7 separate regions of the Homo sapiens genome follow, and all the other regions are linked to region 1. Evidence: promoter capture Hi-C in 16 types of primary human blood cells and fetal thymus (Javierre and others, 2016). All regions are on one chromosome and are shown on one strand. The core of a region is centred on a gene start or on the middle of the fragment in contact, and the rest is flanking DNA. Distances in the headings are between cores, read along the strand shown. Region 1 holds the start of DARS2 (aspartyl-tRNA synthetase 2, mitochondrial). Region 2 overlaps LOC100506023 (a long non-coding RNA gene). Region 3 overlaps PRDX6-AS1 (PRDX6 antisense RNA 1). Region 4 overlaps RABGAP1L (RAB GTPase activating protein 1 like). Region 5 overlaps PRDX6-AS1 (PRDX6 antisense RNA 1). Region 6 overlaps PRDX6-AS1 (PRDX6 antisense RNA 1). Region 7 overlaps LOC100506023 (a long non-coding RNA gene).

What was found. The method cuts DNA at HindIII sites, captures the fragments that hold promoters and counts their contacts. A CHiCAGO score of 5 or more calls a contact.
Region 2: a contact is called between a fragment that was not itself captured here and the fragment with the promoter of DARS2 in region 1, in 1 of 17 cell types (total CD8 T cells). The highest score is 5.4, in total CD8 T cells.
Region 3: a fragment that was not itself captured here is called in contact with the fragment with the promoter of DARS2 in region 1 in 17 of 17 cell types (total CD8 T cells, megakaryocytes, naive CD4 T cells and 14 more); the score reaches 53.6 in total CD8 T cells.
Region 4: a contact is called between a fragment that was not itself captured here and the fragment with the promoter of DARS2 in region 1, in 1 of 17 cell types (fetal thymus). The highest score is 7.2, in fetal thymus.
Region 5: a contact is called between a fragment that was not itself captured here and the fragment with the promoter of DARS2 in region 1, in 17 of 17 cell types (megakaryocytes, total CD8 T cells, naive CD4 T cells and 14 more). The highest score is 31.7, in megakaryocytes.
Region 6: a contact is called between a fragment that was not itself captured here and the fragment with the promoter of DARS2 in region 1, in 6 of 17 cell types (naive CD8 T cells, naive CD4 T cells, megakaryocytes and 3 more). The highest score is 8.1, in naive CD8 T cells.
Region 7: a fragment that was not itself captured here is called in contact with the fragment with the promoter of DARS2 in region 1 in 3 of 17 cell types (fetal thymus, megakaryocytes and monocytes); the score reaches 5.8 in fetal thymus.

The regions. Positions count from the first base shown.
Region 1 is chr1:173,823,042-173,826,880 of GRCh38, forward strand. It overlaps DARS2 (aspartyl-tRNA synthetase 2, mitochondrial), which reads left to right and starts at 1,632. Exons shown (of 17, transcript NM_018122.5): 1 at 1,632-2,315; 2 at 3,646-3,745. The coding sequence starts at 2,189. CENPL (centromere protein L) reads right to left here and starts at 1,842. Exons shown (of 6, transcript NM_001387287.1): 1 at 1,171-1,842; 2 at 885-978. RefSeq lists enhancers at 1,119-1,358, 1,336-1,854, 1,589-2,148, 1,855-2,372, 3,014-3,527. The HindIII fragment of the contact is 2,471 bases long and covers 1,529-3,839 here.
Region 2 is chr1:173,400,227-173,404,065 of GRCh38, forward strand. The region is part of intron 2 of LOC100506023 (a long non-coding RNA gene); the gene reads right to left. It also overlaps a transcript of TNFSF4 not described here. Among named protein-coding and RNA genes, the nearest start is that of PRDX6-AS1, 59 kb to the right of the region's middle. The HindIII fragment of the contact is 388 bases long and covers 1,470-1,857 here.
Region 3 is chr1:173,417,496-173,421,334 of GRCh38, forward strand. It overlaps PRDX6-AS1 (PRDX6 antisense RNA 1), which reads right to left. Exons shown (of 2, transcript NR_125960.1): 2 at 294-1,127. All of the region lies in intron 2 of LOC100506023 (a long non-coding RNA gene), which reads right to left. It also overlaps a transcript of TNFSF4 not described here. Among named protein-coding and RNA genes, the nearest start is that of PRDX6-AS1, 42 kb to the right of the region's middle. RefSeq lists enhancers at 687-1,026, 2,785-2,884. The HindIII fragment of the contact is 1,686 bases long and covers 1,068-2,753 here.
Region 4 is chr1:174,217,025-174,220,863 of GRCh38, forward strand. RABGAP1L (RAB GTPase activating protein 1 like) reads left to right here. Exons shown (of 26, transcript NM_001366446.1): 2 at 2,101-2,271. The coding sequence starts at 2,134. Among named protein-coding and RNA genes, the nearest start is that of RABGAP1L, 59 kb to the left of the region's middle. RefSeq lists a silencer at 3,461-3,580. The HindIII fragment of the contact is 509 bases long and covers 1,512-2,020 here.
Region 5 is chr1:173,435,243-173,439,081 of GRCh38, forward strand. The region is part of intron 1 of PRDX6-AS1 (PRDX6 antisense RNA 1); the gene reads right to left. The region is part of intron 2 of LOC100506023 (a long non-coding RNA gene); the gene reads right to left. It also overlaps a transcript of TNFSF4 not described here. Among named protein-coding and RNA genes, the nearest start is that of PRDX6-AS1, 24 kb to the right of the region's middle. The HindIII fragment of the contact is 2,784 bases long and covers 593-3,376 here.
Region 6 is chr1:173,451,943-173,455,781 of GRCh38, forward strand. The region is part of intron 1 of PRDX6-AS1 (PRDX6 antisense RNA 1); the gene reads right to left. All of the region lies in intron 2 of LOC100506023 (a long non-coding RNA gene), which reads right to left. Among named protein-coding and RNA genes, the nearest start is that of PRDX6-AS1, 7.5 kb to the right of the region's middle. The HindIII fragment of the contact is 5,329 bases long and covers 1-3,839 here.
Region 7 is chr1:173,469,210-173,473,048 of GRCh38, forward strand. The region is part of intron 1 of LOC100506023 (a long non-coding RNA gene); the gene reads right to left. Among named protein-coding and RNA genes, the nearest start is that of PRDX6, 6.2 kb to the right of the region's middle. The HindIII fragment of the contact is 1,904 bases long and covers 1,080-2,983 here.

The DNA of each region.
Region 1 (3,839 bases), core at 382-2,881:
ACATATTTCTTAAAAAGATATACACTTGTCCTCTTAGATGTGGGCTTCACTTTCATTCTCAATTATAGCTACTTATCTTGTTCCCAATCTTAGCCCCTTTCCCTAATCCATCATCAGTCTTTCATTGTCACCACTTTTATCATTACCTTGCTTGAGATCCCATAACAGTTCCCACACATCTATATGAAGTCAAATCAGAATTCCTGTCTGGCTTTCAAGGCACTACTGTATTTGATCTTATTATCTGATCCTATCCAGGTTCATTTTCTACTACTTCAGTTCTTCCCCAAGATCCATCGACATTAGCCTTTCCAAAATCCAACATTCTGCATACACTTCCTCTAAGGTTTTGTATACAACATTGGGGGGTGGGGGGATGGGAGTGAAGAAAGTTCCAGTAGACAATTCTTTAAGAGGTTAAATGACAGCCCTATACCCAAACATGCACCCCCTACTCTAGACAGATGATCACTCTACTGTTCTCCCTGCCTTTTTATTCACCTTATCGCCAATTAAAAACACTTCTCTACTCCCGTTTGTCTCAGTAAATCTTATCCATTTTCCATGTGCCATCTCCTCAGAAGTTTTCCTGAGCTTGGCAGGGCTAGTTCTCTTGACAATTCCACTTGCAGTTGTGGTTCACAGCACACAAGTAAAGCTTTGTTGTTTCTCTTGTGATTAGTCCGTGAAGGGGCTCTGACTTGATCACTTTTCTACATTGCCACCAATACCTAAATCCAACCGCCCCAATGCCAATACTTAGCCAGTGTTAAGCACGTAGTGTTTAAACACACCTCAACACGCAAGTATTGTAAGATAATGACCACACAACAGGGCAAATACAAAGTTAAAGCAGGTCCGGGACCAATACAAAGCATCTTTACCAATAAAATGCCGTGATGACGCTGTCACCCATTCCGGATTCACGAATCATTCTTCAAAAGTCCGGCTCCAAAACTATGTGGAGACTGAAATCCCCTGAAGAAAAAAAAAAAAAACCGCCAAAATGACAGCTAAGACAGAGGCCAGACTAACCCCTGGCCCTCCCAAATTCCCTCTCGCTCCACAAGTGGGTTCACAAGAGACACAAACGCACCCAGGAAGACCTCCGCTCCCTCAGACGCGGGGCGGGCCCTGCGACTTCACTCTGGGAGGGACATTTCCGCTCACCCAGCTCTGCGACCCTCGCTCCTGCGGAGTCAGCTTCTGCTCGCGGAGGGGGAAGGGCAAAAGGACAGTGCGTCCCAACCCGTCCCTCTCCAGCTGAGCCTGTCAGAGACCAGCCCAGCTCTGAAATCAAGCCGTTGAGAAAAGGGAATTCGGCCCTCCGCCGCCTCTTCAGTTTAAAATCGTTTCCCGACTCGCTCTGCGGCCCCACGCAGGAAGCCTCCTTGGCGCCTCGCCGATTCCGTATCAGTGAAGCAACTAAAATTGCCATTTTAACTGAGGGCAAGGCCGAGCCACTTAACCACTATCGTCAACCTTTCCAATCGTGCTCGGTTGCTCCTCAGTTTTCCTACCGGTGCGAAGCTTTCTCTCAAATTTCCGCCCGTAGTAGGCATGGCGGCGGCACCTCACCACTGATTCGTTGAATTCCTTCCCGGTAATCTTGGGCACTAGCGGGCGGAGTTGAAGGGCGCTTGGACCCCAGCGGCGATCTGTGTTTGGGTTCGCGCTCTGGGAGAATTTTGGCTTTGCTCGCCTTCCTCTTTCAGAAGACTCGAAATCGGCCAGCAGGTCTGCGAGATTTGAAACGCGACTGTTACTCCTTGTTTTCCGGTTCTGGCCGCGGGAGCCTCTCGAGAAGCGTGGAAAGAGGAGAAGGGCGTATACCTTGTGACCGCCTCTGGTTGTCTTGGGCTCGCGCCTGGCGCCGCTACGTGGAGTCGCTCTCTCGTCGTCACTTTTGGCTGCCGACTTGTTGAGTAGAAGTGCAGACTGATGCTTTAAGACTCAGGGAGAGGTCTTTCCCTTATCTCCACCCCAGCAAGCACCCCAGAGACCTTGGAGATTTGTCTTGTTTCTAGACACGTGTACTCCAATGTTGTGCGGAGGAGGCCTTAAATATTCGAGAAGAGAGTGGGAACTCCTGGAATTTTAAGGGATTTCTGTGTATTTCCAAAACTGACTTTTAACTACCGGCAGCGTGGGATTTCGTGATTGTTTTTCGCCATCGTGTGGCTCCAACATGTACTTCCCTTCTTGGTTAAGTCAGCTGTACAGGGGTTTATCCAGACCCATCAGAAGGACCACCCAACCGATCTGGGGTTCTCTCTACAGAAGTCTGTTGCAGAGTTCACAGAGGAGAATTCCAGGTGAAAATAGCGAAGAGATCTATCCTATGAACAGTACTTCAGCCTGTTATCTACGGCCGGAGAGCTTTTATTCCATTTTTCATTTTTTCCCCCATTATTATTATTATTATTATTATTATTATTATTATTTGAGACGGAGTCTCGCTCTGCTGCCCAGGCTAGAGTGAAGTGGCGCGATCTCCGCTCACTGCAAGCTCCGCCTCCCGGGTTCACGCCATTCTCCTGCCTCAGCCTCCCGAGTAGCTGGGACTACAGGCGCCCGCGACCACGCCCGGCTAATTTTTCTGTATTTTTGGTAGAGCCGGGGTTTCACTGTGTTAGCCAGGATGGTCTCGATCTCCTGACCTCGTGATCCACCCGCCTCCGCCTCCCATAGTGCTGGGATTACAGGCGTGAGCCACCGCGCCCGGCTTTTCCCCTGTTCTTAACTGGATAGCCTTATGTGTAGAAGCGAAATTCACTCTCATTATATTCATTATACGGCAGTTTTTTTTCCCTGAGTTTTTAGAAAGACCACAAAAAGGTAACCACGTAATATATAGAATACTCTGCTTTTGGTTGATGCCTTAAAAAAATCCTTCTTCGGCCGGGCGCGGTGGCTCACGTCGTTAATCCCAGCACTTTGGGAGGTCGAGGAGGGCGGATCACGAGGTCAGGAGATCGAGACCATCCTGGCTAACACGGTGAAACCCCGTCTCTACTAAAAATAAAAAAAAAATTAGCCGGGCGTGGTGGCGGGCGCCTGTAGTCCCCGCTGCTGGGGAGGCCGAGGCAGGAGAATGGCGTGAACCTCGGAGGCGGAGCTTGCAGTGAGCCGAGATCGCGCCACTGCACTCCAGCCTGGGCGACAGAGCGAGACTCCATCTCAAAAAAAAAAAAAAATCATTTTTCACAGAATTATAATAGTGTTTTCTAGTGTACAAGTGGCTGTTAAACACTAGATTCATACTAAAGCTAAATAGTTCCTACACCGTCCATTTCTGCAGTTTCTAAAATCCTATTTCATTTGAGGAAGAAATGTGCAATATTAAGAATTGGGTAATTAGGATTTTAGGTCAATGCAAATGCTAGAAGATCAAAAAAATTTTGATTTCCTAACACAAGACAGAAATTTACATTCAGTTATTCACTTGGCTTTTGACACATTTGCAGGTAAATTTAATAGTGAATGAATTAAATTACATACTCTGACTTATTTTATTTTATAAATTTCCCCTGTAGCCCTGACATACCTAAGATATATTTTGAGAATTTTCATTTTTAAGCAACCTGCAAGTGATGTATTTTTAATCTTGCCTTTTAAAGTTTCTTTTTTTTTTTTTTTTTAAAGAATTCAGTAGCTTTGTTGTCCGGACCAACACATGTGGAGAGTTGCGTTCGTCTCACTTAGGCCAAGAAGTCACCTTGTGTGGATGGATTCAGTACCGAAGGTAAATTGAGAAAGACAGTCTAAGAATGCATGGTGGTGGTTTTCCCAGGGCAATTCCAAACCTTTACTAATTTACAACCAGTCCGAAGAATAAA
Region 2 (3,839 bases), core at 414-2,913, 420 kb before region 1:
TATTGGAATGGTCTTTTGAAGACTCAATTATAGCACTAGTTAGGTGGCAATATCTGCAGAACTGGGCAAGACTCCCCCAGAAAACTATATATGCTCTGAATCAGCAAGGAATAGATAGTGCTGTTTCTCCCATAGCCAGGATTCTCAGGTCCAGGAATCAAAGGATAGGAACAGGAGTGTCACCTCTTACTGTTACTCCAGTTACACCAGTAAAATGTTTCCTTCCTGTTCCTTCAACTTTATGTTCTGCCTGCCTAGAGGTCTTAATTTCAAAAGGAGAAATGCTTCAACCAGGAGACAATGAACAACAATGGTTCCATTGAATTGGAAATTAAAACTGCCACCTGGCCACTTTGGGCTCTTCATGCCTCTGAATCAACAGACAAAAAAAAGGAGTTCCTTTGCTGACTGGGGTGATTGATCTTTACTCCCAAGGGAAAATGAACTACTACTCACAATGGAGTAAGGAAGAGTATATCTCTCATACAGGAGATCCCTGGGGGCATCTCTTACTATTACTCTGCCCTGTGATTAGGTCAGTGGAAAACTACAGCACAATCCAGACAGAACTACTAATGGCCCAGATGCCTCACTAATGAAGTTGGGGTCACTTCACCAGGAAAAGAATCACAACCAACTGAGAAACTTGCTGAAGGCAAAGGCAATACGAATAAGTAGTGATAGAAAGTAGTTATAAATGCCAGCAATGACCACATGACTACTTACAGAAACAAGGACTCTAATTGTCATGATTATTTCCTCCTTATTTTGTTATGAATACAATTGTGTGTGTGCATATATATATATACATATATATTTGCTTTCTTTCCTCTCTTACTCCCTTATTATATAACATAAAATGTATTGTTTAATCGTAGTATTTAAGTTTTGTTAATTTTACATCGTAGTGTTTAAGTTATAAGATTTCAAGAAGGGTAAACCTCACTCAAGTGCTTTAACTCCTCTTCTGGGAAAAAGGTTATACATTTTGTTGTCTACAGGATAGTAATATCATGTGGAATTATGAACTTGTTATCATCTTTATTTGGAGGTTAAGTATGGTTTCAGGAGGCACGTATGAGTATCAAGTTGGCAAGGGGTGGACTTGTGATGGTTAATTTTATGTGTCAACTTGGCTGGATCACAGAAGCTCAGATATTTGGCCAAAGATTATTTGTGAGTGTGTCTGTCAAGGTGTTTACAGATGAAATGGGTGTTTGGATCTACAGACTGTCCTCCCCAATGAGGACTGATATCACCCAGTCTGTTGAGGACATGAAAAAACCTAAAGGTGGAAAAAGGAAGAACTCACTCCTTCTGCCTGGCCACTTGAGTTGAAACATCTGTTTTCTCCTGCCCTTGGTCTGAGACTTACACCATCATCTCCCCAACTTCTTAGGCCTCAAGACTCAGACTGAACTACACCACTGGCTTTCCTGTATCTCAAGCTAGCAGACAGCAGATCATGAAGCTTCTCAGCCTCCACAGTCACATAAGTCAATTCCACACACATACACAACACACACACACACACCCATATACATACATATACACACACATATACATATATGTCTGGAGAACTCAGGTTAATACAACTATATATTTGGGAAAGGCTTGTCATTAATAACAAGTCCATTTGTTGAAAAATGCTGCTAATGTCCTATCTTATATGGGCAATGGTTTGTCAGACATTAGATCATCCTTATTTTTGCCTTGTTATGTGGCCAGTGTAAAGTTTGTGCCAGCTAGAGCTCTCTGTCAGTTTCGTATTTTCCATTTGCACTTGTGTTGTTAATATGTCTTCAAAATTCATGGCTTCTTTACAATGATATTTTTAACCATTGGCCTCAAATCCTAAGCTTCTTTTTTTATGCTCAGAAACTTTCTATTGGGAGCAGGTTGTGGGCAAATAAATGTCTATTCTTTTACCCTAGGTCAAAGATGCATTCCTAAGTTATTCTTCCCACACCTCAGCCAAAGGTACAACACATCTGCAATCCTGAGAGGCAGAAATAATAATACCTGTACTTACCATAGGCTGATTTGCCATAGGACCTTGGAGAAGCCACTTCACCTACTATTAATTGGCCTTCTGTGCCTTGCAAGAGGATTTTTCAAATCTCAGCCTTCACAAACCACAGTAGAGCTTCTGGGACTCCATACTGTTGCTGTCACAGCCCAGCTTGTGTATACATCCTGCCACAACCAAAACCCAACCAGAGGTAATAATTTCAGATTTTGAAGTTCCCTTTATTTCCACACCTGACCTAATTTTGTAATATGCCCTGGGCCATGCTCTGCACTGACATGTATCCCACCTTCATCAGTCAGATGGAACGTATTAAGCCAACTGGAAAAGGGGTACAAATCTCACCTTTCCCCAGAGCACTATTTCTCATCAATCCTGCTTCAAGGTCATCACCATGTTCAGCAAATGAAGCTCCTTGATGACCCCATCATATAGCTTAGGCACATGGCAGAGAAGGGTGAGTTTGGGCCAGAAATCTGTAAGGACAGAAAAGTAGCCAGTGGCTTTCAAACAATCCCCTGGAGGGCTTGTAGGCTCCTGAGCCTCATACCCAGAGTTTCTGATTCAGGGAGTCTGAGGTGAGGCCTGAGAATTTGCATTTTTTTTTTTTCTTTTTGAGACAGGGTCTCACTCTGCATCCAGGCTGGAGTGCAGTGGCACAATCACGGCTCACCACAGCCTCAACCTCCCAGGCTCAAGTGATCCTCCAACCTCAGCTGCCTGAGTAGCTGGGACCACAGGTGCTCACCACGATACCCAGCTAATTTTTTATTTTTTGTAGAGATGGTATCTCCCTATGTTGCCCAGGCTAATCTCAAACTCCTGTGCTCAAGTGACCCTCCAGCCTCAGCCTCCCAAAGTGCCAGGATTACAGGCATGAGCCACCACACCTGGCCCAAGAATTTGCATTGCTAACAAGTTTTCAGGTGATAACTGAGGCTGCTGGTCCATGGACCACACTTTGAGTAACACTCCAGACTAGGCCAAAGGATACCTGAGTGCTTGTCTGGCATCATCTGGCCATTTTTTCACCCTAGAAATGCCATCTGTTATCTAGCAGCCTGATGCTACTGCTAGCCAGCAGAGACCATCAAGGCCCAAACACATAGATGCATTTTTATGCTCCAGGAGCTTTGCAACATAAAGGAGTTCGCCAATGTAAGTGTCTGGGTCTTTTCTAGAAGCTCCCTAATTTGTAGGATAATTTACCTCCCCATGCTTTATGTAAGTGCAGGGAACAGAGGACAATCAATTCCACACTGACATTTTCTGACAGATCTACATACGTAACAATTGAGATTTGAAATGGTATCATCAAACAAAACCCTGAGTAGTCTTTCAACTGAGTAGTCTTTCAAGCGTTTTCAGCTGGGCGCGGTGGCTCACGCCTGTAATCCCAGCACTTTGGGAGGCCAAGGCAGGTGGATCACGAGGTCAGGAGTTCAAGACAAGCCTGGCCAAGATGGTGAAACCCCATCTCTACTAAAAATACAAAAATTAGCTGGGTGTGGTGGCGGGTGCCTGTAATCCCAGCTACTTGGGAGGCTGAGGCAAGAGAATCACTTGAACCCGGGAGGCAGAGGTTGCAATGAGCTGAGATCACACCACTGCACTCCAGCCTGGGCGACAGAGCAAGACTGTGTCTCAAAAAAAAAAAAAAGAGAGTTTTCATTTTTTCATTTTGTGTTTGTTTGTTTAGTGCCTGAAGGGGGAAATATAAAAGAGTAAGAAATGATACCGGCACAAAGAGACCTGAAAATCTATTGGAGGAAATAAGATATATAAGGATAGGCTCATTGCAGAGCGTGGA
Region 3 (3,839 bases), core at 661-3,160, 410 kb before region 1:
AACCACGTGGAAGCGTGGCCAGCAATGAGACTCTGAAGTTACAAGCCATCAATAACCAAGACCAAAACCTAGAAAACCAAGTTTGAAAAAGCCAGAGTCCCATAGAGGGTGAGTACTGATTTCTCTCATTGCCTGACATTATAACAAAGAGGTTCAGGGCACAAAGATGAGATCTCACCTCCGTCTTCACCTCCCTCTTTTTAGTACTACTCCATCCTTTACAGATTCACCTACACACACTCACACATGCACACACACCACTCCCTTTTCAGGAAGAAAGCTACAGGCTCCAGTTAATTAGAAATTCTACTATTTCAGCTTTATTACTTCCTCTTTACTCTCTGAACTTTAAAGGAACACATTTCTGTAAAGTTTAAATTATTTCAATGAGGTGTATTACCTTTTTAACTGGGGGTGGGAGGGAAGCACTTTTTTTTTCTTTTTTTTTTTTTTAATGTTGAAGACTCCACTCAGTCATTTGAGCTCCAGGAAGCCTTCCCTGGCCACCCATAAGTTAAGAGAAGAGCCCCTCTTCTGAGCTCCCAGAGCACCCACTTCATACCTATGCTATAGAACACACCGCCAAGGACGGAAATTATCCAAAGGTTTGTGTCCATTGATTGCCATGCCAGGCATCCAGCTCTGCTGAAGCACGCAGGGGCCCTGACTTCCTCATTAGGTATTCTCAACACCTCCACCAGCAGCTGGTAGGCAGCAGAGCTATTGTTACTGAGCTGCCCACGGCACCAATGGATCTATGAATGAACCTGAACGTCTTCCCTGGAGAAAAGCACTTGCTTGTCAAGGGAGGAACAGGGGTCTGAAATGCTAACCCCTGCCCTATAGTATGGGTGTGCATACGGTGCACCTTCCAAAGCCCAGAGTGGCATTCTTATTACATCCCGGAAACCCCCTGGTCAGGGGCTTTTGGGGTGACATCCAATATGTAAATACCAGGGTCGGGTCCTGCTGAGTGGCATAACAGTGCCATATGTGAAAGTTCCACCAGCAGCAGAGGGCTCTTTCATTAGTCATTTCACTGCACACAGCTGTAAGGAATCTGGCGAAGCTTGATTTGGCTGGGAGGAGTGCATTTTCCACTTGTAGGCGTCTTGAAAACTTTCATACTAAAAAAAAAAAAAAAATTAACAACAAGAAAATCATCATAGTCCAAAATGAGAAGCCAGAAATTGAAGGTGGAGAGCCAGGGTAGCAAACATAATGGAGGGACTCCAAGACCGGGCTTCCACCAGGACCCTACACTGACTCACAGATGTGTAATGGTCATGGCGAGCCTTACATGTAAACAGAGATCCCAACATGTCCCAGAGGTAGTGGCTGTGGAAGCCTGGGCAGATGCCAGGCAGTATTCTAAGGTTAAGCATTGCTATGGTTTGAATGTGACCCCCAAATTTCATGTGCTGGAAACTTAATTCCCAAATTCACATATCGATGACATTTGGAGGTAGGGCCTTTGAGAGGTAATTAAGATTAAATAAGGCCATGAGTGTGTGGCCCCCACGGTGGGGCTGGTGGCTTTATAAGAAGAGTTAGAGTAACCTGGCCGGGTGCTGTGGCTCACGCCTGTAATCCCAGCACTTTGGGAGGCCAAGGCGGGCAGATCACGAGGTCAGGAGATCGAGACCATCCTGGCTAACACGGTGAAACCCCATCTCTACCAAAAAAATACAAAAAAATTAGCCGGGTGTGGTGGCGGGCACCTGTAGTCCCAGCTACTTGGGAGGCTGAGGCAGGAGAGTGGCCTGAACCTGGGAGGCGGAGCTTGCAGGGAGCTGAGATCACACCACTGCACTCCAGCCTGGGTGACAGAGCAAGACTCCGTCTCAGAAAAAAAAAAAAAAAAGAAGAGTTAGAGTAACCCAAGCGGACAAGCCTGCTCTTGCCCACTTGCCATGTGATGCCCTCTGCCACGTGAGGATGCAGCAAGAAGGCCTTCACCAAATGCCAGCACCATGTGCTTGGACTTCCCAGCCTCCAGAACTATAAGCAATAAATTTCTTGTCTTTATAAATGATCCAGTCTGTAGAATTCTGTTACAGCAATGGACTAAGACAGGCATGATTTGGGGTACAGAGAAGGAAAACTGAGAGGTCACAGAAGAGAGAGGAGGGTGGAAGCTGGGGGAGAGGCACTGATGGAACCAGCTTCCACCCTTCCCTGCAGGGCTTGGAAAGACCCATGAGGACACAAGGGAGAATAAAAGGAAGCAGCCCTGATTGCCATGGCTGGGTCAGGGTCAGGAGGCTAGGACTGCTTTATGTCCCTGCTATAATGGACTTATGGGTTTTTTAAGATTTTTTAAAATAGATTAACTATAGCTCCTAGAGCTGACTCTACTGATAACTTTACCCTGGACTCCCTCCCTGATTTTGACCTTAGTTTGTGTGGCGGGGGGGGGGATGAGAGGCTGCGGTCCAAATGGAATGCAGTTTGCCTGTCCTCTATCAGCATCAATGCATCACCTTTCCCCCGATTTTTACCTCATGATATATTTATGCATTTAACGCATGTTTATTGAGTGAGCTGCATGCAGCAAAATGCACGTAAAAAGCAATTTTTTTTCTTTTTTCTTTGTCCTTTCAACTCCTCTCTCTGGATTTGCCTTGTCCCTGCACTTGAGATGAAAGCTAACCAATACCACGGATTTTCTAGCCACTCTGAGCCATTAAATAAAGAGGCTCTTTAAAACAAACAAACAAAAAAAAAAGTAAAAAACAGTCTACTCAACCTGAAGCTTCTCCCCTCTCAGACTCCTTCACTTCAGGTTTGGAAACTCGGTACCAAGGAGGAAGGCATGGACTTCACCATTTTCTCTCCTCCACCTCTCGTAGCCAGCTGCTAATTCTCAAGCCTCAAGCTGTGAGAGATTGAGAACTGAGGGAAAGGACACAGTACTTGACGGCTCTTACTGTCATGACGCGGCCTTGGTGCCCTCTGGGTTTAGCATGTTTTCCAACGCTTTCCTTTCCAGCCTCACTTAGGCACATTGCAGTTAAAGAATATGGCCACCAGGTGGCAGTAAAGGCCTTTTTTTTTCCTGGCCAGTAGACCCTACCCTCCGGTTTTATATGGCTACATAATTTCTTTAAGATGATGTCAAATATGCTTTCCCTACATTTCAAAAGAAAAGAAAGTAAACACTTAAAACCACAAACTGGTCAACTTAGCAAAAACTAAATATAATTTAAAGATGATGCCCTAGGGAATAAACGTGTAAAGAAAACCTCCCAAGTTGTTAATTATGTAATTACATAACTAATTTACTAAGTCTTTCTCTTCCTCAAATTATTACTGTGTAAGTCTAAATCTTATTCCCAGATCTTGATCATAATTTACCTTCCCTTAATTTAGAGTCAGAAACTTTTCCCCAAAGGCTCCTGTATGGCCAATTGTCATTTAAAGACCTTTATTAATAACAACTATTATACTAATAATATCCATTTGTTTTTTACTATGCACCAGTTACAGTTATGTTACAGTCACTACTTATAGTTATGTGTTGACTACACACAGACTACACACTGCGATAAAACCTAACTGTGGTATTATTTTATCCTCACACCATCCCTACATGTCACCACCACTGCCCCTGCCCGCATTTAGGGTTGCCAGAAAAAATATAGGCCGCACAGTTAAATTTGAATTTCAGATAAACAACAAATAATGTTTTAGCATATGTCCCACGCACCATTAGGGACATAGTTATTGCATGGGACATAAATATTTTATGGGACATATTTACACTAAAAAATAATTATTTATCTGAAATTCAGCTTTAACTGGACATCCTAGATTCTTATTTGATAAATTTGGCAACC
Region 4 (3,839 bases), core at 516-3,015, 390 kb after region 1:
GACTAGAGTGGTAGTAGTAGTAGACAGAAAAATGGATAGATGTGAGTCTTATTTTGGAAGTGGGTCTGACATGACTTGCTGATGTGAGGAGTAAAGAAGTGGAGGTGAATCAAGGATGATATCCAGGTTTCGTGTTCAAGTAACTTTGTAGAAGATAGTGGTGTTATTTACTGAAATGGCAAATCGGGACTGGAAACAAGTTTGGAGGAGACATTAGGAATTCCATTTTGGTCATGTTTCATTTAAGATACGATAAGACTTCCACATGGAAATATCAAGTAGAGAGGTGAATTTCAGGGCAGGAATTTAGAGAAGGTATTTGAGTTGGGATAGAAATTTGGAAGACTGTTAGCCTGCAGATGGTATTTTCGTCCATGACAATGACAGACATTACTTAGAGTGTGTGACAAGGGAAAAGGTCAGGATCTGAACTCAGGGAATTTCTAACATTTAGAAATCAGGTAGAGGAGCAGCAACCTGAGAAGGACTTGAAGGATTGACCACAGAAAGACATCTGGAATATGTGGTGTGTTGGCAGTTAAGGATTCATCGTGCAGTCTGGAAGAGTAAAGACCTGGCTTGTAACACATTCTGCATTTTTAGAAACAAAATATACAAAGTGAGAAAAAAACCTTCAGAGGACAGATGAATGTCGCTTGGGTTTTAAAAAGGAAGGGTGTTAACATGCATAACAGAAATAAATGATGGCTAGCTAATTACACTGGTCCAGGAGTATGGTTATTCTTTATTTTGATATTCTTGAAATTTTTGATTTTTTATAAAGTTGGAAAGTAATTACTTTTTAAAAGATACACATGTAACTTGAAGCTAGACTCATTCTTTTTATTGCCAAGAGTAATGGTGTTAGTGTCACCTAATGGCAAAATGGAATATTGCAGCTATACTTATAGGCTATAATGAAAAGGTAACCTAATTAGAAAGAAAAATAACATTTCTGGGGGGATTTTAGGCATGGATCAGTAGACTTACTATGGCTTACAAGGTCCCGTGTTCTTTAGCCCTAGCCTGCTTGTCCTGCCCCTCTATCACATTACTCATTTGGTCACTGAGCAGATTGTGTAATAGTAGGGTTCTTTTTTGTCTTTCAGGTTTAGGCTCAGATATTTTCCTCTCAGAGAGCTTTTTCCTACCACCTTAATTTGTCCGTATACTTCCCATAGCTACTGTTTGTCACATTAACGTGTTTATTGTTTGCATAGCCTTTAGAGTGACTTGGAATCACCATTTGCTCCCTTTTTATTTGTTTTCTTACTAGTATGTAAGCCCCAGAAGTGCAGGCTACTTGTTTTCCTTATTCACTTAGGTAACCTCAGGGCTGAGTTGTGTCTGTTATATAGTGTATGTCTGCAGTTAAACTTAGTTGTGTGAGTACATGAACTTCTGGATATGATAGTGAGTGTTGTTTCTATGCTGTAGAGATCTATCCAGAAAACAGAATTACACTGTGTTTGATTACTGAAACATTATTTGCTACGTGAAGGCAATATAGAAGCTTTTTTCTTTTTCTTTTTGGTGTTAATAAGTGATAATGTGTCAGGAAAGAGAAGCTATATGTCTTAGGATGTTGAATTCTGTATTAGTCAACTTTAGTTACTCAGAAAAAATATTTGCAGGTACAATATTCGGTCTTGAGGAGATAAGTTTTTTTTTGAAGCATTTAGATTTAATTAATATAGCAGTGTCAGTGAATATGGTTTTGTGTCTGTGTGTGCATTTGTAGGTATTTCTAGTATCATTTAATTATTTCCTCTATTAAAAAGAAAACAGTATTTCTAAGAGAAATGAGAGTGAGTGTGTCAGGTAAACAGTGATAAATCTGGTTGAGATATGGACTGGTTTGTGTAAATTTTTAGGTAACAATATGGCTCTATTAGTCTGGAAACTTAGGATGAAGAGAGAGTACATTTCCATTAAGTGGCTCAGTCCAAGAAGGTAGCCTCCCTAACTTTGAGATAATTATCTAGCCAGCAGGATTCTTCTTCACATAAACCATTTTTAAAGCTTTATTAGTTCATGTTTTTAATTAGTTCATGTTTTTAATCAGTAGGTTTTTTTTTTTAATCCCTTTTGTTTTTCCAGGTGGTTGTGGGAAGAGAAGTTTGCAGAACTGAAATGGAGGTCAGAGCTTCATTACAGAAGGTTAGTGGATCATCTGATTCTGTGGCTACAATGAACAGTGAAGAATTTGTTTTGGTTCCTCAGTATGCAGATGATAATTCTACAAAACATGAAGAAAAACCTCAACTGAAGGTATTTTTTTCTTTTCTACATATGGTATAATTTTTAATTAAAAACTATTTGAAACTTAGGAGATGTGTAAAATGCAAAGGTTTTTCTCAAGTGCTGACTTTCAAAATAAAATCAATGTTTGATTTATCCAGACCCTAATTATTTGGTTTGTGTATTTTAAAAAGTTCTTGCTTTTGGTTGTTTACCTTTTGATTTGGAATTTTAGGGGGAAGAATAAAAGAAGAAAAAGAAGAGAAAGGATTTTTTGGTGAATTAGACATAATGGTTAAATTTTACATTACTTTATCTGGATGTTTTTGTTTCTCTTACTGCTGGGTTTTAGAAGTTAATTAAATGTTTTGCTTTCACTTGAGAGACTTTTTTCTTTATGATTTTTATGTTTTAAATCAGCTGGTAACGTTCCGTTGTGTGATTTAACAGTCGACTTGTCTAAATGTTTTTAAAGCATATCTTATATTTTTAGCATTTGAGTTTTTATTTAGATATGGTCCCTTTTTCACTTCTGTGTTGCACTTTCTAAGTCAAAGAAAAGGAAGCAAGTAAACTCAGTTATATAGGCTTGAAAATGGTATAACTGTCTTCTAGAAACAGGAATAGGAAAAGTAGTTAAAAGTGCTATATATTACTTATGACTTTTATTTAGTATTAACTATGGCATCAAAAGTGTATTAATATATCAGTCTAATAAAATATATTCTGAAAATGAGATTACTAAATGTTTATGTTGAGAATATATTGTTTTATAATTTTATTTAAATAATCAGTGGCTTTATTTTTAGATACCTGTATTTTAGCATTATTGTGTTTAAGACATCACTTATTTGCTTAGGCTTTGTGTTTCACCTGCCTTTGAGAAAACTATGAGTCAACTTAAGTGTAAGGAAATTAGCAATATTCATCTTGGGAGCTAGCCAACAATTTGTAAAGAAATCAGAAATATGGTTATGCTGTGCTAACAAGAAATATAACCTTTTAAATGATATTCATAATAGACCCGATTTAAATTTACCTATTTTTTCCTTTAGACATGTAAATTTAAGGTTATCTGATTTTTAGGGTGTGTTCCTAAAAAAGAAAAAGAAAAAGAAGGGCCAGGCGTGGTGGCTCATAGCCTGTACTCCCAGCACTTTGGGAGGCCAAGGTGGGCAGATTGCTTGAGGTAAGGAGCTCAAGACCAGCCTGGCCAATGTGGGGAAATCCCGTCTCTACAAAAAATACAAAAATTAGCTGGGTGTGGTCGTGCACGCCTGTAGTCCCATCTACTTGAGAGGCTGAGGCATGAGAATCGCTTGAACCCAGGAGGCGAAGTTTGCAATAAGCTGAGATTGCACCGCTGCATTCCAGCCTGGGTGACAGAGTGAGACTCTGTCTTTAAAAAGAAAGGGGAAAAAAAGATAAATACATCTCTGTAAATAGGATCTTATATAAAATGTAGTTGGAAACTGTCTTAAGTGTTTTATAAAGAATCCTTTTGTGAAACTAATAATCTTCCTCTAATTTAGTTTTATAACCAGGATTTTAATGTATTATATATGTGAAACAACTTCTTAGTATTTTAGTAACTATAT
Region 5 (3,839 bases), core at 735-3,234, 390 kb before region 1:
CCCAGAGAGCTGGAAAAGAACAAAAGGAGCAAATAAGAACATTCTAAAACTTACTAAATAACTGAGCTATTTATTAGTTTACGCTCTGGACTGAATTGTGTCCTCCCAAAGTTCATGTGTTGCACTCCTAACCCCCAGTGTGGCTGTATTTGGTGTAAGGATGTAACTGATGTTAAATGGGATCATAAAGGTAGACCCCAATGAAATAGGATTAGTGTCCTTATAAGAGGAGACACCAGCGAGCTTACTCTCTCTCCCTGCCGCATGAGCACACATCTACAAGGCAGGAAGGAGCCCTCACTAGGAACTAACTGGCCAATACCTTGATCTTGAACCTGTCAGCATCCAAACCTGTGAAAAAATAAATTTCTATTTCTGTTGTTTAAAACACCTTGTCTATGGTATTTTGTTATGGCAGCCCAAGCCAACTAATACAGTATGCAATCAATTTAAAATTTCTTATTAACAGCTATATTCAATAAAAGTTAATCTACCTCTGAGGAAAGTTTTTTAAAGATTAATAGTTGCTTATGAAAGAAAAACTGTAGTCAATTATTTGTTGCATCCTACCTTTAATATAATGAGACATAAAAGCTTTACCCATGAATGTCATTTAGTGTCCTTTCCTCATTTTCAAAGTAGTTTATTGTTTAGAAAACAGAAAAGAAAACCTAGTACACATCCATAGCTATTTCTCAGGAAACATTCTCAGAAGTAGAATTACTAAGTTAAAGACTATGCATATTTTAAAGCTACTTGATAAATATTTCCCAAGTATCCACCAAAAAGGTTGAACCAATTTACACTCCACAAAGGAGCAGAGAAGAACATCTATTTCCATGTACTCATGCCACCTCTGAATTTCATTTTAAATTTTATGTCTTAGTTTGTTATCTCCCAGAAGCAGACACTGAGACAAGGATTCAAGTGCAGGCAGTTTATCTGAGTAATACAGAAATACAGAGGGATGGATATGGGTAAGAAGTAACCAGAAGCGAAGGCAGCCAATAAAGGGTGCATTACTAAGCCACCTATCACAGTGGGCAACTGGAACTTAATCTTGCAGAGAAACTCTGGGAAATAATACAAAATGCCCCAGCATTATCCCACCTAAAGGGCTAAGGTCTTACATGACAACTCCAAAAGTCATTAAGTGAGGGCTACCATTTTGTTTTGTTTTGTTTTGAGACGGAGTCTTACTCTGTCACCTAGGCTGGAGTGCAGTGGCATGATCTTGGCTCACTGCAACCTCTCCCTCCCGGGTTCAAGCAACTCTCCTGCCTCAGCCTCCTGTGTAGCTGGGATTACAGGCACCTGCCACCACACCTGGCTAATTTTTGTATTTTTAGTAGAGGTGGGGTTTCACCATCTTGGCCAGGCTGGTCTTGAATTCCTGACCTCATGATCCACCTGCCTTGTCCTCCCAAAGTGCTGGGATTACAGGTGTGAGCCACTGCCAAGTGAGGGCTACTTAAGGAAAAGGGCACAGGGCCTTCAGCATTTTTTTTTAAGCCCTCAGGCATGGAGTTGCAAATACTGCCCTTAGAAATCTAATGGGGAGCGCTGAAATGTCCAGAAATGTGTCCCAGCGCTGATGGCATCTGGTACACTTTGTCAACTTGATAGGGATAAAATGATAGGTTTCTGTGTAGTGAAGAATTAACTTAGGGCTTTTGGCTACCGGGAGGTGATCTCTAGGCCCCTGGAATGCCCAGCGTGTTATGAGTATCTTTGTTGGCCTGAGGGCTTTGGCCACCAGTCTAGAGATGTGATTTATGGTGAGGGCTTTGACCCTCTGGACATCAAAGGCTCAGGTGAGCATCACTGGTTGGCAGTATTCTGTATGTATTGTCACACATCGTAACCAGGAGGTAACACAATCCATGACTCTGTAGAGAGAGGAAGATGGGAAGCCCTGTGCATGGACCCCTCCAGGCTCTGCCCTATGTCGCTTCCCTCTGCTGATTTTATTATCTGTGTCCTTTTGCTATAATAAAATTGTAAGCATAATAAAACTGCTTTCCTGAGTACTGTGTGTCATTCTTGTGAATTACCCAACCTGAGGGTGGCCAGACAAGGTCTCTCGGCTTTTTCTTTTTTAAGTACTTTAACTTTGTTAATTTTTTTGTTGTAAATAGCTTATTATTAATTATTTGCTTATTAATTTAGTTTGTAGCTTTAAGTTATTATATAACCAGTTCTATCAGTCTTTTCCTTTACAGCTTTTCTGTACTTACAAAGGTCTTTCTCACTACAAAATTATATAGGCATTCATCTTTATTTTCAAGTTTTTTAGTGTCCTTCTCCCACATTTAACTAATTCCATTTGGAATTTGTTTTCTTGTACTCTTTTAGGTAAAAATCTATTGTTACTTTTTCCCAAACTGATTCTCAATTGACCCAAAACCACCTTTTGCCTCACTGTATTTTTCTTCATTTTTATCACATGCTAAATTCCCACATACACTAGGGTTCATATGTGGTCACTCTATTCTGTTCCATCTATATACAGTCCATCACTCTTGTCTTCAGATTCTGTGGGTTTATAATACATATTAATATCCCATTGCAAACATTTTTCCTACTTATTGTTCCTATTCAAAATATTCTTAGTTTTCTTATTCTTCCATCATAAAATTTTCTGCACCCCAAGAAAATGTTTTACTCAGAACATAAAAGAAAAATTAAAATCACATCATCAATTCCCATCACACCTGCCCCTCCCCAATAAAATCCCACTAGAATTTTTTATTGGAATTGCACTAAACTTAAATATTAATTTGGGAAAATTTGTATACCTACAAAACTGAATCTTTCCATTCAGAAACATGGTATGTCCCCCAGTAAAAACAAATACATTTTTATCCTAGTACTTCTATTTCTTTAATTAAACCCTGACTAAATTAGAGAGTATCTAGGTAGAAGACTCACATTGTCCACCAAAGTCTACCATGGGTTAATTTTGTTTCAAAAACATTAAAACCTATACAACATGAAAAAAATAAATAAATACATTTTATAAATTGTTTTAAGTTGGCATCCTTCATACAGGTCTAGCAAGTTTCTTGTTAACTTCAAGGAAATAGCATTTTTATGGCTCTTAATACACACTGCTCCAGGAAATTTCCACTTCCACCAGCATCATATAAGACTGAATGGGTCCCCCTGAAAATTTGAGCTGATTAAAAAGTATCTCACTGTAGATTTAAAGTGTACTTCTTTGACCACATATATTTATCAGCTGATTGTATTTTTTTCTTTGTGAACTGTATCTTTTGCTTATTTTCTATACTTCGACTTACCAAGTAGAAGTATTTTTCTCAATAGGTCATTTGCCTCTTAATTTTATTATATTTTCTGATATATAGAATTAAAAAGCTTTCCATACTGGCAAATCTCTTCTTTGTGGTTTCTTCAGTGGCATTTATGCTTAGTGAGTCTTACAATTCAAAGATCATGTAATATTTGTGTATATTTTCTTCTATTTATTTATATGTTCTACTTGTTTTATATCTCATGCTTAAGGTCTGAAGAAAGCTGAAAGATCAGTCTTATCCAAGCTCATGTGTAACACAGACTGAGTAAAAGTCCAAGGTCATCTGCCTCCAAGTTCAGAGCTCTTTGCACAACTTTCATTTAGCATGTATCTTCATGTACCCACCATGTGGCAAATAAATGAGGCTTCAGAGAGTAACATAAAGCACAACCCTCATCTAAAGAAGTTAAATAATTGCACCTATAAAACAATCTGAGACTGCCCCACCCCATCAATACAAGCTGAGTGAGTGACAAGCTACGTGCAGAGAGAGAGGAGAGCTCTGTATGCCAACGGCCAGAAG
Region 6 (3,839 bases), core at 525-3,024, 370 kb before region 1:
TCACCTGGAGCTGATGCCTCACAAAAGAGAGGATGCCCACTCTCCTCAAAATCTACCCCAAACACTTCTTATTGCCACTAGACCCATAACTAGAGTCCAATTTCAACATGTTCCAGCAGCCTGGAAGTGGCAGCAGGTCTCTGAGTATAACTGTGGCACTGAGCCCAGGTTCCCAGATTTGTCTCGTTCCACTTGCTCTGCAGAGTATGAGCCAATATAAACTAAAAGTGATGTCTTTACTAAACACCTGTTACGAAACAGCCTGAGGTGTAGATATCTCTCATCTCTGGCCTTGTTTTCAGCATTTTTCCTCCTTGGATCAACAGTTTCTGATACCAGGTTAGGTTACAAGGCTGGAATAAAAAAACAAACCCCAGCTTGGAAAGGAAGGTGAATAAGGTAGTCACTCTTACTTGTTTGTTCTCACAGAATTTGTCCACCTGACTATTGAAATACCCAGTCTAGCTTCTTAGTTTTTATTCATGGCTGTTGGTATTTATTAAGTAAGCATTAACAGACTTATTGGGCAAGTAAAACATAATGTGCTAGGCAGCCACAAGAAAATACAAAGCCAGAGTCCCCAACCCTCAAGAGTTCATTCTAGACTAATCGTAAATACATGGCTTTATGTTTTCAGATTATGCTTAATGGAGCCACTCCGAACCATTTTCTTCTGGGTGGCACACCTCTGCGTAACGAAATTTTCCAGACTTCATATGGGCAAGGTAGCTAGGCAGAGAGAATGACCTAAAACTAAAATTGTTTCAGAGAGAAGTAGGAATTGTACTAATTAATGCTGGAGCAAGACAAAGATAGACTTCGAAGGGGCAGATGGCTACAGCTTAGTGTCTAACATTATGGAATTGATCTCGGTAGGGCACCTAGCATTGCTTCTACTACTCCCATGCCTCTAACTGTCCCATAAGCAGGTGCTGTTAGTGGCAAAGGCAAAATGCAGGAGTGCAGCCCACCATGGCTATAAGAAGTACTCAAAATCCATATCTTCCTGCTTTGGGATAGCTGAATCTCAATAGACAACAATTATTTTTGTAACACACTTAAATAATGTAAGAGAAAAAATAGTAAAGAAGAAATGTTTAGAGAAAATGGAATGACAAATGAGCAAATATAGGAAAAGAAGTCAGGGAAAAGAACATCACACTATAAACTCATCAATGCTTTATACCAGCACCTTGCACAAAGTTTAACTTTGTAAATTGTCTTAAATATTAAATACCTAACTTTATATAAAAAGGCAACACCAATATCATCTCTTCTCAGCGCCTCCAAACAAAATTATGTACTTTGTTTTTTCTAATTAAATTTTTTTTTTTTGAGACAGAGTCTCACTCTTGTCACCCAGGCTGGAGTGCAATGGCACAATCTCGGCTCACTACAACCTCCACCTCCAGGGTTCAAGCGATTCTCCCGCCTCAGCCTCTCAAGTAGCTGGGATTACAGGTGCCCACCACCATGCCCAGCTACTTTTTGTATTTTTTTTTAATAGGGATGAGGTTTCACCATGTTGGCCAGGCTGGTCTCAAACTCCTGACCTCAGGTGATCCACCCACCTCAGCCGCCCGAAGTGCTGAGATGACAGGCATAAGCCACTGTGCCTGGCCAGAATTATGTACTTTCAATTGTTTATCCTCCACTAGAGATGCTTCTCTGTGAATTAGTTACACATCTTTATGAGTAACTACCTTTATCACCTACCTTTATGATCAGGTTGTTGATCTGAGAGATGGGACTATGGAACAGAGGAAAATTAACAGGTGCCCATTAGGCCTCAAGCCACAGTTGAGTTTTCAGTGGGATTGTACTCTCAGCTAATGAGATGGAAATGAAAGCTGAGTGCTTACTGACAAGAACTGACTTCATACCTAAGTGGGCACACAAAAACCCCAGAGGTGTAAGAGTAAATTCTGGGCTTCTAATCTGCCAATCAAAACTTCACAAAGGGTTGTGATTGTTAATTGTAAAATAAACCTATCTGCCCATGGGGACTCTTGGGAAACAGCGTTACTGACTATATAACACATGTAAATACTCTGTTTATATACTTTAATTGTCTAGCCCTCTGTAAAATGAAACAATTTAGTTTAGGGACACTTGAGCTCAGTATCTAAAGACTAGGACAAGCCCACATTCCTTCTCCTTGGAAGAGAGATCTTCTTTTTCAACAGCTAAAATGCAGCCATTTGCTAAAAATGACTCAGCACTCAGAAAGCTCAGGAGAACAAATCTCAGAGAAAGGGGCTGTCCCTGCCAGACACCCCATTTCTCCCACCCAAGATTTCTATGCCATGTATCACCCATACAGCCAGAAAGCTAGAAGTATATTTATTTTATAAGTGACAAAGCAAGGAAACAATGCTGAGAGGTCCAGAATTGAACAATAATCACCATAGATATGTTTCTTTGGGGAGAATTCTTCTATGTAAGAGCCTTAAAATTACCTCTCAAATTTACTTTTTGAAACCATGGTGTTGAAAGGGACTGCTTGAGAATCTGGAACCCGGTGTTTGGTGAGGTTATCTTGGCCCATACTTCCTCTGCATAGCAAACAGTGACTCTTTGGAATAAGGGGCAAACTTGGGACTCAGGGCCAGAGTTATATTCACAGACTGGCTGCCACTTCCACACCACTGGAATATGATGACAATTGACCCTAGTTATGGGTCTAGCAGCAGTAACGGGTGTTTCAGGTAGGCTCCGAGGAGAGTGAGCATCCTCTTGTTTGTGAAGTATTTGCTCCAGGAGAGGCAATTACAGGGTTTTTGAGGGGAGAAAAAAATTCTGCAGATACACAAGAGCAAGATACTCCCACTGGCAAGGGAGACTCAGAGCAACTCAGGGGTTCAAGATTCTCACTCTCACTTGAGACCAACCATATGTGCCCATTTCAAGTTTTGGGGTCTCCTTCCCAATCAATGACCTAACTTTCACATGAGAAACTTGGCATTAATTTCCCAAGAAAATTACTGATGTTGTAGTTCTGCAACCTGTAAAATTAAATTTTGTGTTTAATTTTTAACAATACCAACCCTGTGGCTACAAGACATAAAAGATCCTGTTAGGGCTGCCATGGAAGTCCTCTAGTTCTCAGACCGAGAACTAAACCAAGAGCTTAAGGACCTGAGCTTTTCATCTTCTGTCTGTAAGCACTCCACTACACTCAGAAATATCCATCCTATGCTACAGTCCTTGCAGTGATCACTACTGCCGTTAAGAGTCCAGTGTCCGGTCAAGAGACAGAAACCACACAGTAATTCAAATAAAGAAAGTATAATCATGAAGAACTGTTAACTTGGTAAAAAGGTGGTTAACCACTAAAAAGGATAAAAGAGAATTGTATGGTGTAATAGAGGTGGCAACCTCAGACTACAGCTATCACTCTTAAGATGAAAGGAAAGGTAAACAAGGAGGAAACTTAGAAAGAGAGAAAGGACTCCAGCAGACTAACATTTGGGCCTCTAAGGAGATGGTTCAGCTGGTGCAGAAACATGTCACCCACTGCTGGGGTGAAGAAGAAACCTCCGGGGGACATTCACTTGCTGGAACCACAGGAACAATTCACCACCACAAGGAATACTGCCGGGGCCAGGTATGTGCTGACCCATTCACTGTCATGTGGAGAAGGCAAAAATAACAGGAGAAGATAAATCTCTTTTTCCTTCTCCAACTTTGAGAATCCCTTCAGCACTCCCTTAGCCCCTAATTGGCTGAACCTAATATAAAGCCAGATATCTGAGAAAAAAATGTAGTTTGCAGTGTACATCTCCAGTATCGTGAAGTAGGACAAAGAAAGGTAGTTTGGAACTAAGAGGAAATAAATT
Region 7 (3,839 bases), core at 782-3,281, 350 kb before region 1:
AGTGAGCTTTTTGAACAATTCAGGAAAATAATAGTTCATATACAACTATTCTAATGTACACACAGTGGCAATTTCTTTTTCTTTTCTTTTCTTCTTGTTTTTTTAACCTTATTGAAGTACTGCAAAATACACAGAGAAAACAGCAATTATCTTAAATATACAGTTTGATTAATTTTTACAAACTAAACACATGTAATAGCCAGTATCCAGATCAATGGTCCTGTGCAATCACCAAGTAGCCAGCTTTCTTTATGAGGGAGTGTAGGCACACTTGTAGTCCTAGCTACACAGGAGTCTGAGGCAGAGGATACTTGAGCCCAGGAGTTGGAGGCTGCAGTGAGCCAAGTTAATGCCACTGCACTCCAGCATGGGTGAAGTGAGGTCCTGAATCAAATAATAACAATAATAATTTACTACTCCAAAATCCCTCTGAGAGTTATTTCTCATTGTAGCATTTTATTAGCTGTTGTCTTTCATTTTCACTCCTACATTTCCTACTTTGATTTCTCTCCAGATTGTAGAAGTCCTGTAGTAGATATAATAGGGAGTAGTAGATATAATGACAACATTAAACATGATTGATATGGTTTGACTGTGTCCCCACCCAAATCTCATCTTGAATTTAACTCCCACAAGTTCCACAGGTCACGGGAGGAGCCCAGTAAAAGGTGAATGAATCATGGGGGCAGGCCTTTCCTGCACTGTTCTCGTGACAGTGAATGAGTCTCACAAGACCTGATGGCTTTAAAAATGGGAGTTTCCCTGAACAAGCTTTCTTTTTGCCTGCCACCATCCACGTAAGATGTGACTTGCTCCTCCTTGCCTTCCACCATGATTGTGAGGCCTCCCCAGCCATGTGGAACTGTAAGTCCATTAAACATCTTTCCCATATAAATTACCCAGTATCAGGTATGTCTTTATCAGCAGTGTGAAAATGAACTAATACAGTAAACTGGCACCAGTAGAGTGGGGCACTGCTGAAGAGATACCCAAAAATGTGGAATCAACTTTGGAACTGACTAACAGGCAGAGGTTGGAACAGTTTGGAGGGCTCAGAAGAAGACGGGAAAATATGGGAAAGCTTGGAACTCCCTAGAGACTTGTTGAATGCCTTTGACCAAAATGCTGATCATGATATGGACAATGAAATCCAGGCTGAGGTGGTCTCAGATGGAGATGAGGAGCTTGTCGGGAATTAGAGAAATGGTGACTCCTGTTATGTTTTAGCCAAGAGGCTGGCAGCTTTTTGCCCCTGCCTAAGATATTTGTGGAACTTTGAACTTGACAGAGATGATTTAGGGTATCTGGCAGAAGAAATTTCTAAGCAGCAAAGCATTCAAGAGGTGACTTGGATGCTGTTAAAGGCATTCAGTTTCATAAGGGAAGCAGAGCATAACAGTTCAGAAAATTTGCAGCCTGACAATGTAATAAAAAAGAAAATCCCGTTTTCTTAGGAGAAATTCGATCTGGCTGCAGAAATGTGCATAAATAACAAGAAGCCAAATGTTAATACCCAAGACAATGGGGAAAATGTCTGCAGGGCATGTCAGAAGTCTTCACGGCAGCCCCTCCCATCACAGGCCTGGGGGCCTAGGAGGAAAAAACGGTTTCAGGGGCCAGGCCCAGGGTCCCCATGCTGTGTGCAGTCTGGGCACTTGATGCCCTGTGTTCCAGCTGCTTCTTTTAGCCATGACTAAAAGGGGCCAATATACAGCTTGGGCCATGGCTTCAGAGGGTGCAAGCCCCAAGCCTTGGCAGCTTCCACATGGTGTTGAGCCTGTAGGCACACAAAAGTCAAGAATTGAGGTTTGAGCACCTCTGCCTAGATTTCAGAGGATGTATGGAAATGCCTGGATATCCAGGCAGAAGTTTGCTGCAGGGCCAGGGCTGTCATGGAGAACCTCTGCTAGGGTAGTGCAGAAAGGAAATGTGGGGTCAGATCCCCCACATAGAGTCCCTACTGGGGCACTGCCTAGTGGAGCTGTGAGAAGAGGGCCACCATCCTCCAGACCCCAGAGTGGTAGATCCACCAACAGCTTGTACCGTGTGCCTGGAAAAGCCACAGACACTCAACACCAGCCTGTGAAAGGAGCCAAGTGGGAAGCTGTACCATGCAGAGCCACAAGGGTGGAGCTGCCCAAGACCATGGGAACCCACCTCTTGCATCAGCATGACCCAGATGCAAGACATGGAGTCAAAGGAGATAATTTTGGAGCTTTAAGTTTGACTGCCCTGCTGGATTTTGGACTTGCATGGGGCCTATAACCCCTTTGTTTTGGCCAATTTCTCCCATTTGGAATGGCGGTATTTACCCAATGCCTGTAACCCCATTGTATCTAGGAAGTAACTTGCTTTTGACTTTACAGGCTCATAGGCAGAAGGGACTTGCCTTGTTTTGGATGAGAATTTAAACTGGGGACTTCTGAGTTAATGCTGAAATTAGTTAAGACTTTGGGGAACTGTTAGGAAGGCATGATTGGTTTGAAATGTGAGGACATGAGATTTGGGAGGGGCCAGGGGCAGAATGATATGGGTTGGCTGTATCCCCACCCAAATCTCATCTTGAATTGTAACTCCCACAATTCCACACGTGATGGAAGGAACCCAATGGGAGGTGACTGAATCATGGAAGCAGGTCTTTCCTGCACTGTTCTCATGATACTGAATGAGTCTCACGAGATCTGATGGTTTTAAAAATGAGAGTTTCCTGCACAAGCTCTCTTTTTGCCTGCCACCATCAACATAAGATGTGACTTGCTCCTCCTTGCCTTCTGCCATGATTGTGAGGCCTCCCCAGCCATGTGGAACTATAAGTCCATTAAACCTCTTTCCTGTATAAATCACCCAGTTTCAGGTATATCTTTACCAGCATCATGAAAACGAACTATTACGATGATAAAGAAAAGCAGTGGAGAGATTATCAGCCCCACTCACTGAAGGTTGACAGGACTGCCTTAATGATATGTACAGGTTACTGTGCCCAAGCTTTCTTTATTTCTGAAAAGACAATCAAATCTAACAAGAAAGTTTATAGAGTTGAAAAAAAACACAATCTCACCATCCTAACATTAATTTTAGTTTTATATGTCTCCTCCCATTGGTACAGGGATTTTTACCTAGCTCTAATTACAGTCATGCATCACTTAACGATGGGGATATGTTCTGAGAAATGTGTCATTAGGCAATTTTGTCATTGTGTGAACATTATGGAGTGCACTTACACAAACCTAGATGGTATAGTCTACTACATACCTAGGCTACATGGTATAGCTTATTGCTCCTACGCCTCAAACCTGCACAGCACATTACTATACTGAATACTGTAGGCAATTATAACACCATGGTAAATATGGCTCAAGCCTGTAATCCCAGCCCTTTGGGAGGCTAAGGTGGGAGGACTACTTAAGCCCAGGAATTTCAGACCAGCCTGGGCAACACAGGTTAGGAAGACCCCGTCTCTACCAAAAATAAAACAATTGCCCAGGTATGGTGGCATGTGCCTGTAGTCCCAGCTACTCAGGAGGCTGAAGTGAGAGGACTGCTTGAGCCCAGGAGCTTGAGGCTGCAGTGAGCTATGATCACACCACTGCACTCCAGCCTGGGTGACAGAGCAAGGCCCTGTCTTAAAAAAAAAAAATGAAAAAAAAAAGGATAAAAAATGGTACACCTATATAGGGCATTTACCATGAATATAGCTTGCAGGACTGGAAGTTGCCATGGGTGAGACAGTGAGTGAGTGGTGAATGAATGTACTGTAGACTTTATAAACACTGTACACTTAGGCTACACTAAATTCATGTGTAAAAATTTCTTTCTTCAATAACAAATTAACCTTACCT